Regions from separate parts of the Homo sapiens genome. Here region 2 is linked to region 1. Evidence: promoter capture Hi-C in 16 types of primary human blood cells and fetal thymus (Javierre and others, 2016). All regions are on one chromosome and are shown on one strand. The core of a region is centred on a gene start or on the middle of the fragment in contact, and the rest is flanking DNA. Distances in the headings are between cores, read along the strand shown. Region 1 holds the start of IL1A (interleukin 1 alpha). Region 2 overlaps CKAP2L (cytoskeleton associated protein 2 like).

Evidence for each region. The method cuts DNA at HindIII sites, captures the fragments that hold promoters and counts their contacts. A CHiCAGO score of 5 or more calls a contact.
Region 2: a contact is called between a fragment that was not itself captured here and the fragment with the promoter of IL1A in region 1, in 2 of 17 cell types (M2 macrophages and endothelial precursors). The highest score is 5.5, in M2 macrophages.

What each region holds. Positions count from the first base shown.
Region 1 is chr2:112,782,865-112,786,110 of GRCh38, forward strand. It overlaps IL1A (interleukin 1 alpha), which reads right to left and starts at 1,629. Exons shown (of 7, transcript NM_000575.5): 1 at 1,579-1,629; 2 at 860-914. The coding sequence starts at 906. The HindIII fragment of the contact is 4,198 bases long and covers 1-3,062 here.
Region 2 is chr2:112,748,457-112,751,702 of GRCh38, forward strand. All of the region lies in intron 5 of CKAP2L (cytoskeleton associated protein 2 like), which reads right to left. Among named protein-coding and RNA genes, the nearest start is that of CKAP2L, 15 kb to the right of the region's middle. RefSeq lists an enhancer at 1,549-1,598. The HindIII fragment of the contact is 678 bases long and covers 1,283-1,960 here.

The DNA of each region.
Region 1 (3,246 bases), core at 379-2,878:
ACATGGCCATTACTGTCATCTTTGAAATTTAAGGACTTCTACACATACACATAGGTAGAGTAATTCATATCTTACTAATCTGGAATTAGTAGTCATCAAGACAGGCTTTGAGCTTTACCTGTGCTTTATCTGTAAAAATTGGACTTGGCTAACAAATTGAAGAGCTTTAATTGAAGTTCAGGGAAGAATGTTAAGCTCCTTTAGAGAAAAGAAAGGTTTTGAAGCACTTCCTTTTTATTTTAACCAAATAGATTATATGTTACACATTACTTTCATGTATTCACTAAAACAGATTTCATAATTTATACTTAGTAAAATATCCAGGCAAAATTTTGACAGCCTAGTTTGTGTTAGTATTTACTACAGATAATGGAAACATCATGTTAGTTTAATATGTTCCGTAATTTTATCTTTGTGTTCATTTACCTTTCTTCTACATCTGAGTGAGATTTGCCTGCATATGTGAGTTCACATGCCCAGCTTGCTGTGGAGCCATTTCCTGTTCCTGAATGAGATCAAGTTTTCCTGAGAATGGACCAGTAAAACCCATTCTTATATCAGGGCATGTGATCTCAACAGAGGCTGTGTCTAAGTTGATGCTGATATTCATGTAGGGCTCAGCAGACCTCAAAAATAATTTTTCTAAAATGGCGGTCTCCCTGCCAATGTAATCTCAGTTTAACATGCTGAATGCTTAGTTTTTCTGGGTCTTCTCTGAACCTGCTCTGACTTCAGGACTAGTACACATCTCTACAACCTCTGCCGGCCTGCCCCCATGCTGGCCACTGTTATGCCTAGCTGGATTCTGGTGAGCCTTGAAACCCTCATTAAATCACAAGAGATAAATCTTATTCCTTACCTGTAACAGTTCTTCAGGTCTTCAAACATGTCTGGAACTTTGGCCATCTTGACTTCTGCAACAGAGAACACCAGCCACCATCAGCTCAGCCAGCCTCTAATCCAGATATCTGTGAGGGGAGCCCCTCCTCTTTGTGCTTCCTGAAAACTTTGTTGAATGACTTAGTCCACATTCAGCATTTTCTCCATCTTCTAGCTCCTTTGAATTAGTTTGCTATGTACCTGTCTCCTTTATTAGATCGTAAACTTCTTTTAGAATGTTTTATTTATGTTGGTATTCCTTATGTGCCCAACCTAATGTATTGCCAGAACAGGCATTCAATCAATGAAAGTTTGAAGAGGTTACAAAAACACCACAAGAATAAGGTATTTGCCTTACACAGAGGTAAGAGAGAGACAGAGTTGGAAATTTTCAATTTTCTCCTAATAATTTTGGATAGTAGAGATTCCCTCCCATGAGAAGCCTCAGTTGTATTCACCCATGCCCTCATAGGAAACTAGTTCTGCTGTCCCTCAGTATAACGAATCAGTCCTTATCAGCAAAATGAGAGAATCATTTTCTGAAATCTGACTGTAATTCTAGGTCACATACCAAACCAGGGAGGGACAAGAAAAGAAAGGAGAGGCTGTAGCTTTAGAGAAGGCAATGTGAGAGAAAACAGCCAAAGAGAAAAACAACAACAGAAAATACTTTAATAGCCAGAGATGTGAGGACAATACCTTTGCTGACTCAAACGCCAATGAAATGACTCCCTCTCTGGCTGGCAGCTTAAGCCTGAGTCAGTCTTCTTCGCCTTTTGTAATTGTCTTAAGTAGGCGTGGCTACGTGGCTACAAGTGCGTCGTCAAAACGGGGAATTTACAGGGAAGAATTCAGTTTTGTATTTTTCTATGTTCATTCAACTCGATACTGGCTAAAATAGTGAAAGATGGCATAGCTGATATTATTGTTGTTTGCAGATATTCCAGAAGTTATTGATTTGGTTCATTTATTCACCCCTTTGCTTTATAAGATGACAAACATGTAGTCTTAGAAAAAGGGAAGCGCGGGAAACTTATCAAGTTTCTAGGAGGAAGGGAGAAATCGTGAAATCCGAAGTCAAGGGGCTAGATTTGGAGAGGAATTTATTAATAATAATAGTTCTAATAGTAGCTGTAGTTGTGTTCTGGCTGAATTTGTTGATTGTGCTCCAGGGTGAATTGGCAGAATACTTGGCAGCTCCTGGCAACTTTTGAGGGAAAATGAGCCATCTTTTCTGAAGAGGGAAGTTTGCTTGATTAAGGCATAAATCACCTCAGAGTTTGGGGTGACAAGCTCCTGGTTAGGGCAGGGTAGAGAAGAGAACAGTGGTATTTGAGCACAAAGAAGTCTTGATCCTCTTACTCTTCTGAATATTGTCAACACATTTCCTATAGAGGGGATGGAGCTTCAGGAGAGAACTCTCCACCCTGGCCCTGTTACAGTAAAGTAGCCCTCTACCAAGGACCAGAGAGAAGCCTGGTCTTCTGTAGGATATGCCCAAGGTGTGTCTTCTGTAGAAGAAGGTGTGTGCAAGCCCCGGGAGGTATGCGTAAGGCCTCAGCCAGAAGCCAGTGGCTAAGTTTGGGAATGGAGATTGGGAGAAAGGAAGGCATGGATTTTTACATATGAGCCTTCAATGGTGTTGCCTGGTTACTATTATTAAAGAATTTCTCAGCTTTTATAATTCCTGTGGCCAGCCTAGTTCAGGTGGTAGAACACCAGACTCTTAGCAAATGAATGTTTTGGGTTCCCAGTTGGAGTTTAAGCCATGTATATTTTAAATAGAGGAAATGAACTAGGTGTGATGGCATGCCCCTGTAGTCCCAGCTATTCAGGAGGCTGAGGCAGGACAATCACTTGAGGCCCAGAGTTTTAGTCCAGTGTGGGCAACATAGTGAAGCCCCCATCTCTAAAAAATAATAAACGCAAAAAAGCATGGATCTGGGAGGAAAGCAGCTTGTGTGAGTTGGATAAAGTATTCCCTCTGTTCCTGTTTAATTGTAAATAATGGGGTTGGTTAGGTGTCATAAGGTCTATTGCAGGTGCAAAATCTCTTATTCTGATTTAATGCCAGTCTAATTCTCCTGGTCATAGACCTGGTGCTATAATAGTTATAACAGGAGCCACAGAAATAACCACACTTGGATGTAAGCAATGTAAGTGTAGCACCAGACTAGGGTAGAAGCTTGGGTGTCTAAGGATGAATCCTGAAGCAACAGTGATGCCAGCCAACTGGCTACATTTCTGCTTACCTTGGTTCCTCTTTAGGCAACACAGAAATGTTAATCCTGATTAACCCTCTCCTCCTGAGAATCTTGTGAGGGCTATTGCTAAGGAACAATTGCAAAGCACATTGTGAATGTGAGC
Region 2 (3,246 bases), core at 372-2,871, 34 kb before region 1:
GGCAAATAACAAGTTTCACAAGAATACAGACTCAAAAGGTTTGCCATTCAAAAATCATAAAGTCACTAGTGAGTAAACTTTAGAATTCACATGAAAGACTTGAAATAAAAGTAACTGCAGGCCAGGTGCAGTGGGTGGTTCACACCTGTAATCCCAGCACTTTGGGAAGCTGAGGCAGAGGACTGCTTGAGGCTAGGAGTTTGAGACCAGCCTGGGCAACACAGTGAGACCCTGTGTCTACAAAAAAATGTAAACTATAATGGGTGTAGTGGTGTGTACCTGTAGTCCTAGCTACTCAGGAGGCTGAGGTGGAGGATCACTTGGGTCCACCCAGGAGGTTTAAAGTTGCAGTGAGCTATGATGGCATCACTGCACTCCAATCTAGGCAAAAGAGTGAAACCCTGTCTCTTAAAAAAAAAAAAAAAATGAAAAAAGGAACTGCAAGAAGAATATGATATATATTCTGCAAATCATGTTTGAGCTTACATCTATCACTTTATTTTCATTTCAGTGTATTATTTTATGAAATAAAACTAGATTAAACACAGAAATGAGGAAAAAATAATTCATGTAAGCTGAATTACAAAATAAAATAGCAGGCATAAGTTTAAACATACAAGTAATCATAATAAATGTGTACGAACTAAATTTGCTTTTTAAAAGCAGAGAGTTTCAAATTTGTTTAAAACATTTAACTGTGTGCATTTATATGAGACATACCTAAAATAAGTCAGCCCATGAAGGCTTAAAGTAAAGGGATGGAAAAAGAGCTACCAGAGCTACCAGACATATTCTAACAACAAAAAGCAGGTGTGGCAAGATTAATCAGACAAAAGAAATCAAAGCAAGTCATGAATCTTTCTGTACCTAACAACATAACTTTAAAAAATAGAAAGTAAAAATTGACAGACATATGAAGAGAAATTGTCAATGATTAATCACAGTGCCAGTGACAGACTTTGGCATATTTCTTTCAGAAAGCAATAGATCAAATAAACAAATAGGATATACATTATTTTCAAACACTTTTGGAACATTTACCAAGAATGATCAGATATTAAGGCCACAAAGAAAATTTCAACAAAATCCATCAAGTAGAGTACACATAGGCCACATTCACCAACTACAATGCAATATAATTAGAAATTAACAGCAGAAAAAAAAAATCTACACATCTGGAAATTAAAAGATACTTTTCTAAGATATTTTTTGGGTTAAAGAACTCAAAATGGGAATCTCAAGCTATTTAGAAATGAACAATGACAAGATATGTCAGTTATGAAGCTTTTGTCTATTGGCCCCAAACCCCATCCTCTGCTTTGTGATGCTGGGGATAAAACTCTGTAAAACTTTCTGCTGGGCAGCAGCTCCCTGCTCAGCTCTGCCAGCAGGGGGCACGAGAGGGAGGCTGCAGGGATGGAGAAGGAAGACACTTGCTTCTTCCTATTTGCTTTCATCACCCCAGCAACGGTCCCTCACCCTGGCAGTAACAGTTGGTTCTAGCATCTTTTTTTCCCCCTCAGAGCCCACCTCCCTGTGCAGCTTCAGAGCAGAAGCACCAAATGGATAGCATCTTTTCCTCAAAATCTGAGCCCCAGCCCTGCAGGGCCTCTCCTCCATCATCTGCTGGGTAGTATGCCTTCCTTACAGTTGGAGTCCCATTTCTACCAGGGTTTGTCTCTCCTGCTTCTTGGTTCTGATACCCTAACCTCTCTTTGTTCTCCTAGACCCAGTGGGTACAAGCTGCTTCCTACAGTTATCACATTACCTCAGGTTCCTGTGTGCTGTCAGCCCTGTGTGTAGCACCCACACTCCTTCTGATCCCTTCAGCATCTTGTGCACACAGGCTTACCGCGTGCTTTCACAGCCAGCATCTGTGCTCCCTCGTATGTGCCCAGAGAGTGAGAAGTGCCTGACAATTCTTGTCCGCCCGAGGCAGCCATGAATAAATGACCATGGAAGCTTTAACAATGTAGCTCCCTTGCCTCTGATCAGGATGACTCTGAGAGATGTGACCTACACTGTCTCCAGAGCTCCCCTGTGGGGCTGTGCCAGAGTCACCGTCCATGGATTCGCTTTTCTGATCCTACAACTTCACTCCCCTCCCAGTTTTCCCTGGAGTGTCTTCCTAATAAACTACTTTCACATGGATTCTCCTCTTAGGCTCCACCTCTAGAGAACCCACATAAGATACTGTGTAACCAATTACATTCTTTCTGTGGTTTGTTTTTCAGACTTGATCCTGACTGATAAAGAGTATTACTTAGTCAAATCTGAGGGATATGACCAAAGTAAAATTCAGAGGCAAATCTGCTATAGCACTGAACATATTTATAAAAAAAAAAAAAAGAAAGACTCACTTTTAAATGATCTAAGGTTTCAATTAAAAAGCTAGGAAAAGAGCAATAAATATAAAAATAGATGCAGACATTGATGCAAGAGAAAAAATAATCAATAAAACCTGAGGTCTTTTAAAAAGATTAATGAGAAAAAATCTTTGGCAATAAAACCTGAGATCTTTTAAAAAGATTGAGAAAAAATCCCTTTAAAAAGTCACAAAATTACTAAAGTTGACTCAAGATATATGAACTCTAGAACAATGACCCCATAACAAATTGAGAGGATATATACAAAATTATCCTCCAAAGAAACACGGTCCAGATGATTTTTATGGGCAAGTTTTTATCAAACCTTCAAAAAATAAAAATAATTCTCATGTCATACAAACTATTTTCAGTTTATAGGGCAAAAAGGAAAATACTCAACTCATCTGCCTAAGTCAGCATAACATTGGTACTAGGAAAACACAAGAAAAGACAACCAAAGTACACAAAAATGTGAATAAAAGAATTGCAACTCACAAAAATATAATACTTCATTTCTCGACATACCTATACTGTATGGACATGCATGAAAACAGAATGAATGACTGGCAATGGTGGTCACCTCCAGAGAGAAGTTTGGGATGCCTAAGTATGTATGTTTGTAGAGGGAGAGGGCTGATCATTTATCTGCATTACTTGAAATGATTTCAATAATAAAAAGGTACTCATTTTTAAATAATACAACAACAAAAAAAGAGGATAAGAAAAAGAACTCAAGTTCAATTCCACAAGGAGAAATAGTTAATATTTAACTGGATGTTGTGAAAATGTTGCCTGGAGTAGACTTAAACTGAACTTTTCCTTTTTTTTGCTGATGTTCAACATTACCAGCCAAAGGACTGAATGAGTTTTGCTCTAGGCA